Linked DNA regions of Homo sapiens: region 2 is linked to region 1. Evidence: promoter capture Hi-C in human tissues and cell types (Jung and others, 2019). All regions are on one chromosome and are shown on one strand. The core of a region is centred on a gene start or on the middle of the fragment in contact, and the rest is flanking DNA. Distances in the headings are between cores, read along the strand shown.

Region 1 (6,298 bases), core at 1,161-3,660:
CTGTTTTCCAAGTGTAGCAGCTCCTTCCCCTCCATAACTTGGTGGATGCTTTTCCCTTTGCCTAGAATTCCTATTCCCCTCTTTGCCTGGCTAACTCCAAATATCCTTTAAGACATCTCTCAAACATTACTTTCTTTGGAAAGTCTTCCCTGATAGAGATGTAATTCCTAATTCCTTCTCATCATGCTCAACCATTCCTCTAGTACACGTTTTGAACTTTATTGTTTCATTTGTTTAATCTTTATTCATTTTGTGGGCTCTTTTTGAAGGCAGTGAATGGGTTTTGCCAGCAGAGGGTCTGCTAACACATCAAGGTGTTCAGTTAAGCTGTGAATGATCAAATGAATGTCATGTTTTCTTCTCTGTGTACTCTTACTCAAAGCCACATTCTCTCAGCCCATTCTCCCCCATATATCAAAACTGGACCAACTTTCATTGCCCTTCCTATACCTTTCTTTCTTTCCTGATCACCACACTGAGAATCTGTCCAGCGGGTTCTGACCACACTTATCACATAGTGCCTTTTGGCATAACTACTCTCTCTCTGCTAGACTGTAAGCTCTTTGAGGGCAGAGACTGTATTATATGCTCCTTACCTATAGGGAATTCTCAAAGAATAAATGGGTGATTAATTGGCTGGTGCTGTGACCACTGAAAAACCCAGAGATAGACATCGGAGCATATTAGTTTTTCTACAATTCAAACAAGCAGCTTAGAATTTCCTGGTATACATGGTACCCACACCCAGCAGGTACTAAAGAGACCTGCTGATAGCAACTGTGTCGCAGTCAGGATCACAGATGTTATTATGATGATCTTAAGTGCCTCAGGCTGAACCAGCAGGAAGCCGAGCTAATACCAATCCTAGGACTCACACACCATGGCACCAGAGTTGATTAGAGGCAACCCTGCCCCAACTATGGCTTTAATAACATGAACGATGCAACAGGACACCAATCACAACAAGAATAAAGGAATATGCTACTAGGGACTCTTGCTTATTTGCCATCCTCAGCTTATGAAGAAGTATCAACAAGTTTCCTCTTTGCTGACATATACTAGAAGAACCTGGAGGTTCTTCTATTAGACCAAGGAGGGGAGAGGAGTTGTTTCTGGGAGGAGCAGCAGCAAAGAGATATGACTATGTTCAAACAGTGAGTGTGGACGTTCTTATATTAGAAAGTATTAGTAAATAATCACACAAAAATAGAGCCAGTTGGCGTAATGGAAAGAACAATAGACTAGGCCAAAAAGATCAGGTTTCTAGTCCTGTCTGTAACATTGGCTGAGCTGTGAGACAGTTTCTGTCTTGGGCCCTTCATTTTCTCATATGTAAACTGCACAGCTGGAGCTCTAAATCTCAATATTCCTTCCAGTTCCAATATTCTTTAACTAGGGACTTTTTTCTACCCAAGATTTGTTTGTGGCCAATAGCCAACAGTTACTGGCACCAGTGGTTTTGAGAAGACAACTGGCAAACCATTTAATTCTGTCCATTTTCTGGTAATTTTAATTTCTTCATTTTCATCAATAAATGTGTAATTGAGGATATACACAGCCTGGAGGTGACTGTCATACACACATGAATCCACTCTATCAGCTAAACTACAGGAAAGCAGAGCTTGGCGACCTGCGTCCCTTTTTCCCCCACCCCTTACTTACTTTGGGAGTAGAGGGGCTGTCACTGGGCAGCAGCTTGCTCCTGCTGTCTGGTTGGGCTGGTGTCTCAGGACATTTGAGAGGGTGTGACACTGGAGTCCTCAAAATCTGATCTGGACTTTCTTTGTCTTTTTCCGAAGATGTGTCGAGCTCATGCACGTTGCTAAGGGGAGTCCAAGGTGGTGTACCCTTTGCCTCTGAATCCTGCACTTCACCCTTCTCTGGGGTTTGGCTCGAAGCCTCCCTGCTTTCTTCTACTTTCTTCTGCCCTTCAATCTCAGTCTCCTCACAATAGGAAAAGTTTAATTTCTGCCTTAGTTCTTTGTCAATATCTTTGTCATCCATCTCAGCCAAAGAGCTTTACAACACAGACAAAAAGCTCTATCAGAAGGGAACGCTGTGAACCTACAGAAGCAGGGAGGAGAAAATAACTTAACCTGCAGGTTTCGCGACGGTAGCCTGAATTTCCCTCTACCAACTAACAGCTACAAAACACGGTGTTAATTTTCTGCCTTAAGTACCACCAATCTATAAGACCTCAGCTTATCCTGATTTCCATTCTGATTAAAGAAAGCTCCAGTGACTCTCGGAGCAATTAAATGCAGTTCATGTACAGAACTCTTCTGGATATGACACATAGTCTCCCATGTGTTACCAAATACTAGTGAGAAAATTGAATTCCTTTAATTTAGCATGGCTTTAAAAATACCCATTAGCCAATTTGGGAATAAGCTAATATTGAAAAGAAATTATTTTCACTCCTTACACCTGCCATTTATAAATATCACCCTCTCCTCCCTTCTCCTCCCCACCCACCCAATAGCTAACAGCAGGTAATTACAATTTAGCATCACCTGGCTATCATAATGATCCTTAAACAGCCTCTAACATATCTTGACTGGAGTTTGTATCCCTGACAGAGACACAGCTTAGCTCTGTGCCAAACACACCTGCCCTAATTCAGGCATCTCCCTCCTGCAGCTGTTAGCTGTTAGCAGTTAAAGCTTCTAGGGAATTGAACAAAAATTTAAACTGACAAAAGAAAGGCTAGAAAGATCAACAAACCATAGAAACAGATATTGATCACTGGAAAACAGCAATGGCTTCTGCCAAAAATGCCTTATATTGTAAAATGCTTTTTAATATCTTTAGTACACATTATTTAATTTCTTTCTCAGAGAAGCCCCTATGAGAAGGATGGAAAACTCTTTGAAGAAAAAAACAACTATTATACAATCAAGCTGTCCCTCTTCTCTTCCAGTTATATAGCCAAAGGAAATAAAATCACTATCTCAAAAAAATACCAACACACCCATATTCATTGCAGCATTATCCTCAACAGCCAAGATATGGAAACCACCTAAATAGCCATGGACAGATGAATAAAGAAAATGTGGTGAATACACACACACACACACACACACACACACACACACACACAATAGAATATTACTCAGTCATAAAAAAGGAAAGGCTGCCATTTGTGATAACATGGATGAACCAGGGGGATATTAAGTGAAATAAGCCAGGCACAGAAAGACAGATACTACATGATCTTACTTATATGTGGAATCAAAAACAGTTGATCTCCTAGAGGGAGGGAGTAGAATGGTGGTTACCAGGATCTGGAAAGGCAGGGGAAATGGGGAGATGCTGATCAAAGGGTACACACTTTCAGGTATAAGATGAACAATTCTGGGGACCTGATGTACAGCATGGGTGCATATGGGTGTGGTAAATTTTTGGTAATCATTACACAATGTATAGGTATATCAAAGGAAAAAGGCCTCACTGATATCACATTATAGAAGAAAACTATGTGAGAGGCAGTCCATGAAAAAGGAAAATGATACACTCATGCCCCTCAAGGAGGCTTCAGAGGGACTGCAAATAGGGAATTATTTACATGATAAACATGGGCCCAAAGAGAGACAGGAACCAAGGCCAGCTTGATGAGTTTGAAACAAATGTTATTTCCCTTCTCTTTATAGTCTTTGCTACCTGTCACCCCTCTTCCATTTCCCTCTTTTCACAGATCTCTCCACCACTTTCTCCTAATTCCTTCCCCATTCCCAGCCAGAACTCCTGAGGAGGGTAATCCAAATGAAAACTAACTGGGGAGACTTCAAAGTGTTTTTTCAGCTCAAAGCCTTCTCATGCTCCAGCCCTTTGTAGGTGGGCACACCAATTCATCCTTCCTTGGCCCTTCCCTACAGCCTCCCACCCACACAAACTATCCCAGATAATTCAACAGGGGGTAAAATATTGCTCACAAAATGCAGTAACTCACTGCCCACCTTTGTCAGAGATTCAGTATCCTACAGGGGCCAGTAAAAACAGAATCATCAAAGAAAAAGGAGAACTCATAGGTTACCAGTAATGCAATTATTATCAACTGGGATTCTCAGCCTAGGAGTGTCTTGTTTACAAATCAGCAAGCCAGATGATAGATTTCTTTTCTATAGCCTTGGTGTTGATGAATTTCCCCTCACATGCCATGGCTTGTCATTCCTGCCTCTCCAGGCAGCTAGAGGCTGGCTTTGCTCTCAGTAAAACAGGACTGACTCAAAACACTGGCTATATTATTGTCCTGTAGACAGGGCACAGGGGCTGGTTTATTAGGTATTACCCAAGTAGACCAGGTTTTCTTTTTTTTTTTCTATCACCTGCTGCTTTTTCTCTCTCCCTTGCTATAATTCTTGATTACCCTTATTTATGACTACATTGTTTGCCTAGGGAGGCAGCTATGCCATTGCAATGGTTGAGGTCTTATGTTATCGGCAGTAATACTGTTAGAAACTTGCACCATTCACCTTTTCATGTATTGTTACTCAGAAGATAATGATTGTGGCTAAGTCTTCAGAATAAGAAAGGTGTAACAATGAGTACAAAAAAGATATCCCAAATTTGGACAACTAAATAATAAGAATTGCATAGTTGCTGATCTGGATGACCCAAGGGAATCCCTAGAGGTGCTACCTATGGCCTCTGGCCCATGGCCTCACTATTTTTTTGGTCACATTGTAGCCTTTTCTTCATTTTTAGCCTCTTTCCATTATGAAAAATTTCATCTCTGCTTCAGTATATGTTAATCCCACAGGCATCCATCCCAGCATAAAGCTTCAGGTGATAGTTGAGATGATGTGTCAAAAGGGGGACCCATGTAATCTGTGGCAATAAGAGGAAAAGGGGAGGGTTTCCCCCTTAATGCCTAACATATAGTAGGTGTTCAATAAATTGTTTTTGGATGAATTTGGGGAAATAAATTAATATATTTCAATCATGTTTAAAATACTCCATATTTGACTTTTTAAAAAAAATTTGAATTTTTTTCTTAATGTGTCAGGAGTTGCTGCACAGGGGGAAAGCGAAGTTCCCAGGAGTAAGATGTGCAAGAAGCGGGCAGCCTTGCATCTCAGGGCTGAGTTCCCTCAACTGTGTGCTTGAGGGAAGTTCTCCCCTTGCAGACACACTGCTGAGTGATAAGGAAGCACCTAGACTCCACTCTGACCAGACTTGGTTCTGAGGCCTATGAAATGTTGATGGGAAGAACAGAAGCAGGAAAATCTATCTATTCAAATTTGCAAGACGTGGAAACTTTTATTCACCTTCCTGGTTAGACTGTTCCTTTGTCAAAGTAAAGCTAAGGCCATGGAAAATGAGCTATTTGAGAGTTTGTCGCTCCAAGGAAGAACATGCTGGCCTAATTGTCCCCCAAGTCAGGAGAGAGAATTGTAAAAAACACTTAAACAGGCCTAAGTAAAGGTCCAGCACATTATTTATTTAAGACTGAATTAGAACTGAGTCATTCCGACTCTGAAAAAAGAGTGTTGTTGGATTCTTATGTATTTAATGGGTCTGCCCTATTGAAAACCATTGTGAAGTATGGTTTCCCAAGCAAGAAATGACACTTTCACTGTCAGTCTTTCTAGGAGTCTGGCAGAATCCAGGACCGGGATTACCCTTATTTATGAAGCGACCTTAGACTAACAGTGGCTCTCTGGGTCTCCAGACAATTGGCCAGGGACTCTAAAAACCAGAAACAAAGTTGAGAGAACTCCATGCTGGTGGAGAAAAACAGCTGGCCTTTATCACCAGAATGTGCCCCATAGAAGCAGCAAAGCAGCAAGCGACGTTCTTAAACAAGGGCCTGTGGGCCTCGTCAAGATCTGGAGGAATCATCTACGACTCACTGCTGAGTGAGAGGGCTAGGCAGTGTCTTTAAGGTCCTGCCAGCTTTAACATTGTATGCTTTTTCTTTTGTTCAATCTCTCACCACAACTGGAAGTGTTGCCTCAACTACACAGGAGAAAGTTTGCAGTAACTTAGAGAAAACATTATTTTAATCACCAGTGTATGTTCTCCTGCTCCCTGGACAAATCCATCAGCAGCGGCAACACTGACCAGGTCCAGATTGGGGCCGCTGCGGTGGATGTGAATCCATTGAAACTAGGGGTCTCCAGTGCTCCTGACTCCTCACAGCTCTGTTCCTATGACAAGGATGGTCAGCAAAGCCAGCAACCTTGAAGGGGGACCTTCTTCTAATCTCCTCCCTGCCTGCTGAGAGAGTGTACAGAAGCAGCCACTTGTCAGCTGCGATGAATCCAATGATAATTACATAAATCATTAACAATACTTG
Region 2 (6,298 bases), core at 1,299-3,798, 40 kb after region 1:
AGGGACCTTCTGTGCTTTAAATCATTTCTAGGTTACTTATAATACCTCATACAATGGAAATGCTACGCACATAGTTGTTATACTATGTTGGTTTTTACATGTATTAAATTTTCTTATTGTTATTCTTTATTCTTCCAAATATTTTTGATCTGCATGCAGTTGGTTGAATCTGAGAATATGGTATTAGGGGATACAGAGGGCCAGCCGACTGTACATGTGATATGATTACACTGTTGTTAAACAATCACAGTGTCTGTCTAGATAGAGACACACACACACCCAGACATAAACATGGAAAGTATTGATGGGTGTATATGAGCTTATTAAGTTATGTATTCCCTGGATGAGGTAAAGTATGGGATGCGGTAGGGCAAGGCTTACATGTACAAAAAAGGCAGGGACCAGGAAAAAAAAATGACAGTACTTAAAAATAGCATGTATGAGGCCGGGCGCGGTGGCTCACGCCTGTAATCCCAGCACTTTGGGAGGCCGAGGCGGGCGGATCACGAGGTCAGGAGATCGAGACCATCCTGGCTAACACGGTGAAACCCCGTCTCTACTAAAAATACAAAAAATTAGCCGGGCGAGGTGGCGGGCGCCTGTAGTCCCAGCTACTCGGGAGGCTGAGGCAGGAGAATGGCGTGAACCCCAGGGGGCGGAGCCTGCAGTGAGCCGAGATTGCGCCACTGCACTCCAGCCTGGGCGACAGCGAGACTCCGTCTCAAAAAAAAAAAAAAAAAAAATAGCATGTATGATATAATAATACTTGTCATGGATGGAAAATAATGTAATATATCTGTCAGTTTTTATTGAAATATAACATTTTATAGGAATAAGTTCAAAAATAGTATATATGATACAATACTTGTCATGTATGGAAAATAATATATATATATCTTTAAGCTTTTTATTGAAATATAAAACTTTATAGAAATAAGTTCAAAAATCATACGTATATAATTCAATGAATTTTTACAACATGAACACACGTATAAAGAAAAGCTTTAGTCTGAGCACGGCGGCTCATGCCTGTAATCCCAGCACTTTGGGAGGCCAAGGCAGGTGGATCATGAGATCAGGAATTCAAAACCAGCCTAGCCAACATGGTGAAACCCCATCTCTACTAAAAATGGAAAAATTAGCCAGGCATGGTAGCATGCGCCTGTAATCCCAGCTACTTGGGAGGCTGAGGCAGGATAATTGCATGAACCCAGGAGGCGGAGGTTGCAGTGAGCTGAGATAGCGCCACTGCACTCCAGCCTGGGCCACACAGGGCAAGACTCCCTCTCAAAAAAAAAAAAAAAAAAACTTTAAAGAAGTAAGCTTTTAATGTAGGAGTCAGATATAGGAATGTTTCAGAGGGAAAAAAATAAACTGGAAAGGAAGCAGAGGGAAGAGGAAGACCTCTCTGAGAGGTCCAGATGTGGCTGCTAAATGCTCCCCTTAGGAAAATGGGGGAGTGGGAGAGGGATACAGGGGAGGGGGGCTGGGCCCCGGGAGTGGAGGGCTTCCCTAGTGGCAGGCATGGGTCTATCAGAGCCTGCTATGGACACTGAACTGACAGTGGTTAGGGAGTAAAAAGAAATTGGAGTGAAAAGAGGATGGAGTATGGACTTGAAAGGTTGGAGGGAAAACATGAAGGTACGCACTGGAGACATCAAGAAAAGAGATTTCTCTGTAAAAGCCAGAGAAACAAGGCTGGAAAAAGGGAAAGAGATTTCAATGAAAGCAGGAGGAATTTCTGTTGCATGTGCAGGTGAGAAGGGGTGAGAAGTCTCTAGAGCTGACCCTTTTAGAAGAAAGGAGGTGGCCCTGTGGGCAGTGCTTCCCTGGCATGGGCCTGGGCACAGGGCCTGAACTACTTGCAGGTCCCAAGAAGGGCCATGTTGCCTCTTACCTGCAGGCCTTTGTATGTGAACACCTTCCCTCAGATTCATCTGTTTTTGTTTGTTGTTTGTTTGTTTGTTTTGAGACAGTCTCGCATTGTTGCCCAGGCTGGAGGGCAGTGGTGTGATCTCAACTGACTGCAACCTCTGCCTCCCAGATTCAAGCAATTCTTCTGCCTCAGCCTCCCAAGTAGCTGGGATTACAGGCACGCGACACCACACCCAGCTAATTTTTTGTATTTTTAGTAGAGATGGGGTTTCACCATGTTGACCAGGCTGGTCTTGAACTCCTGACCTTGTGATCCACCCACCTCGGCCTCCCAAAGTGCTGGGATTACAGGCATGAGTCACAGCACCCGGCCTCAGATTCATCTTTATGTCGAAGCTTCAACATCACTTCCCCCAGGAAGTCTTTTCTGTCTCTCCTAGAGTGGGATCAGGCACCCTCCAGTTTGCTCCACCATGCCCCATTCTTCTCCCATCATGGCTCTGTCAGGCTATATTTTAATCGCTTTCTCCCACTAGCCTATAAAATATACATTGGGCAAGCCCCACCTGGCCTCTGTGTGGTGGAAGAACAAGTTGGGAGCTTGAAGATAACCAGTGGGAAAGCTGGGAGGAACCGGCACGTGCTTTGGCACCCTTTCCTATCTGGTTGCTGTTAGACTTTGAAGAGAAATAGCGATTGGAGGGATGCAACCAGCCTTGGTCACTTGGTGCCTCTCCTCCTCATGATTTGGGTTGCGGTGGCAGAGGAGTAGGCGTGGGTGGCAAACAGGACATGTTCAGTTCAGGGTCGCCTTTATCCTGGCATGGGGTAGGGGAATGGTATCAGTGCAGGAGTGATGCCTTGGAAAGGGAAATCCTCTCCGGGTAGTGCAGACACAGCTTCGGAGGGTCCAGGACAGCCCTGGCTTGGACAGGCAGAGTGCAGAGGCTGCCCTGAGGCTCGGGTATAGGTGCCTCTGAAGGCTGGTGGTTGTTAAACCCTAGCACGCAGCCCGAGAGTCGGTGCCTCTCTCAGAAGTGCTCTTGCCTGCCTCCCTGATGGGTGATGAGCTCTTTCTTCTGGCACTTTGGCATGGAAATGACCTTTCACAAAGCTCACAAGGCCCAGGGTTTGAAGCCTTTCTGTTTTTCAAAGCAACAGTAGTGGCCACCCCATATTGGCTATTTTTATGTGCTATTTCATGTTTTGTCTCAGGCGGTCCTTAAAGTAACCCTACGAGGTAGGTGATGATTCCGTATTTCACAGTTAAGGATAGTGAACCGGAAACATTAGCTAACTTTCCCCAGATCTCCCTGTTAGTAAATGGCAGGGCCAGGATTGGAATTCAGCTCTTCCTGGGATCAGAGCTTATGCTCTTAACCCCTATGATACTCCTTGGCTCAGTGTTCCTAGAAGGCAATTCAGGGGTTGCCAGTTAGTGACAGAAGGAAGAGTGGGGCCAGTCGTGGTGGCTCACGCCTGTAATCCCAGCACTTTGGGAGGCCAAGGTGGGCGAATCAGTTGAGGTCAGGAGTTCAAAGCCAGCCTGGCCAACATGGTGAAACCCTGTCTGTACTAAAAATACAAAAATTAGCCGGGCATGGTGGTGCATGCCTGTAATTCCAGCTACTTGGGAGGCTGAGGTAGGAAAATCAAACCCAGGAGGTAGAGGTTGCAGTGAGCCAAGATCACGCCACAGCACTCCAACCTGGGTGACAGAGTGAGTCAGACTCCATCTCAAAAAAAGAAGGAAGAGTGGTCAGAGGTGAAGTGCAGCAGGGGTTATGCCAGGGGCTCCTTCCTACCTGTGACTTCTGCAGACACCTCACTTTGCACAGTAGCAGCCCCCATAGATTTGGGATCTGACTGGGGACTGTTTGCTCATCATGTTATTACTTAACAGTGCTTAGTAATGTTTTCGAGTTGAGTTTTCTTATTGAAGCAGATGCTTTTATTCTGGTTTTTTTAAATTTAAATTTAGCTTTGTTTCCTTTGCATTGTTCTCCTGAGTAAAATAATGATCACTCAACTCAAACATCAGTGTATCAGGGAGCTGTTGTATTATAGAAATCCAGTTTAAAGGTAAGACTTTTAAAGTGAAAAACATCATTGTGTGTGGAAATAAGCATCCTTTAATGTATCTGTTTGGATGGACTTTAGAATTTCAGAGAAGGAGATTAGATACCTTTTGCTATATTTCTAAGAAGCTGTTCCTCACTCTTTCTCCTCCCTATTCCCCTCAATTTTTTCAGATCACACACCCAGCTGGCTGCATGTCTCAGTTTATAAAGTTCTTTGGAGAACAGATCCTCATCCTCTGGAAATTTGCCTTACTTCGAAAGCGCATTTTGATATTTTCTCCCCCACCTGTGGGCGTGGTGTGCTATAGAGGTAACCAGAAGCCAGAGTCAGGAGTGCTGCTTAAATCCCTGGAGCAGAAACTGCTTGAGTCTTTCTGTCACTGACCAAGTTTGGAAGAGCTTGGGCCACATCCAGGGGATGGGGTTTTAAGCCCGGGAGTGAACTGATTGGCTGTGAACACTGTTGACAATGTAGAAGATGGGTTGGATGACACATCAGTGGCCTGGCCAAAGATTAGGGCTGGATTAAAGCAGAGAAGATGCATTCTAGATGGATTTAAGAGAAACTGGACAAAACTTGTTGTCTGATTGGGTTGTAAAGGTTCTGATGTGTGTGAGGTTGCAGTGGAAGCAGAGTCTAGGATAACAAGGGTGGTGGGGCCACCAGATGGGGGACGGAGGAGGAGCCGGGGGCTGGCTTGATAAGGTTAGTGTGGGATGTGATGAGGGTGTGCTGCCTTGAGACCTTCACAGCAGGGGTGTCTGCCCACCCTGCCTAGCTGGGTCGGGACCTGTGGGCGTTTGAGCTGGAGATAAAGATTTGAGGGTGGTAGATTATTTCTGCACTCATATCCAGGATGGACAGCGTTACCTGGGGAAAGTACAAGTGTGGAGGGGTGTTCCAGGCACAGGAAGTGGACCAGAAAGGTGGAAGGACAGAAAGGACTAGGGAGGGACAGGCAGAAGGGGGAACCGGAAGACACAAGGGTTACAGAGGCCGGAGTTCTGACAAGGTCAAATTCTAAGCAAGACCAGCTAGAGAAAGACTGAGAAATGTTTATTGGGTTTGGGAAGCACGTTGTTGACGTCACCTTGAGGGGTCAGTTTCTGCCATGGCACCCCAAAAGGCTTGCCACCTCCAGTCTCCTCAGAACGCCAGGACCACCTGGATCCTGAAGCACCAGATAGCCTGGAGCAGAGGTGTTGAGCCGCAGGCTCCGAGGGAGGAAGGGCTGTGGAGGGGCAGACCCTCCCCGCTCACCTCCTCTATCCCCACAGTGTACTGCTGCTGCTGCTTGGCCAACGTTTCACTGCCTGGCATCGGGGGCACCATTCCTGAGTCCAAACCTTTCTTCTACGTGAACGTGGCTGACATCGAGAGCCTGGAGGTAGAGGTGTCCTATGTGGCCTGTGAGTACGGGGCCCTCCCCTCATCTTGCCCTCAGGTCCCAGCCCTGCTCCTCCCAGACACAGGGCTCCTGGGCGCCTTGTTTCCCAGTGGGGTCGGGTGGGTTCCCACCTCTCTAACCCCGGGTTCCACAGGCACCACAGAGAAGATATTCGAGGAGAAGCGGGAGCTGTATGACGTCTACGTGGATAACCAGAATGTGAAGACACACCACGACCACCTGCAGCCGCTGCTGAAGATCAACAGTGCTGACAGGGAGAAGTACCGCCGGCTCAACGAGCAGAGGTAGTGGCAGCTAAGGGGAGAACCAGGGGCTCCACCCTCCTCAGGGCAGCTCCAGCATGGGGGTCTCTGCAAAGCCTGTCTTCTGCCCCTTCCCTGACACATTTCTCCCAGTCTCCATGCTGCCTGGGATGGAGATGGAAATGAAGGGAAGCCCCGCAGTAGAAGAGGCCAGGCTCCCTGTATGCTGCCCTGATAGGAGGGGAGTAGATCCACGGTGCTGGTTTATTTCTTCTCATGGACTTTGGAATCTGTGGAAATTACCTTAGCTGCCAGCTGCTCTCCACGTGACCTTTAGATGTACCTGTGTGTGCGGCTTAGAAGCACCTTGACTGAGCACCTTCATTGTGTTGGTCGCCGTATTAGAAGCTTGCTTATATGTATCTGATGTCATTGTCAATAATCTGGTGATCCTGTGAAATAAGTATCATCATCATCATCATCCCCTTCTGATAGACAACTAGGAGATTGTTACTTGCCTAAGATTACCAGGGGCAGAACTGGCCCTGGACCCCAGGGATTTTGAGTCCAAACCCTGTTGATCCCTTTCCTGGCTGGTGCTGCTTCCTGGGAGGTGGTGGCCCATTGAAGATGCCTGGCTGAGGCCTCACCTGTGACTGCGGTCCTGGTACCTGCACCAGAGTCTCACGGT

What was found. The method cuts DNA at HindIII sites, captures the fragments that hold promoters and counts their contacts. A contact is called where the count stands out against the background at its distance.
Region 2: a contact is called between a fragment that was not itself captured here and the fragment with the promoter of WEE2 in region 1, in 3 of the 25 tissues and cell types used here (bladder, pancreas and spleen).

What each region holds. Positions count from the first base shown.
Region 1 is chr7:141,704,465-141,710,762 of GRCh38, reverse strand. WEE2 (WEE2 oocyte meiosis inhibiting kinase) reads right to left here and starts at 2,410. Exons shown (of 12, transcript NM_001105558.1): 1 at 1,663-2,410. The coding sequence starts at 2,004. It overlaps WEE2-AS1 (WEE2 antisense RNA 1), which reads left to right. Exons shown (of 4, transcript NR_199841.1): 4 at 5,006-6,298. The HindIII fragment of the contact is 8,083 bases long and covers 1-3,721 here.
Region 2 is chr7:141,664,255-141,670,552 of GRCh38, reverse strand. DENND11 (DENN domain containing 11) reads left to right here. Exons shown (of 9, transcript NM_001080392.2): 5 at 4,128-4,266; 6 at 5,235-5,366; 7 at 5,499-5,649. Among named protein-coding and RNA genes, the nearest start is that of DENND11, 35 kb to the left of the region's middle. The HindIII fragment of the contact is 3,190 bases long and covers 954-4,143 here.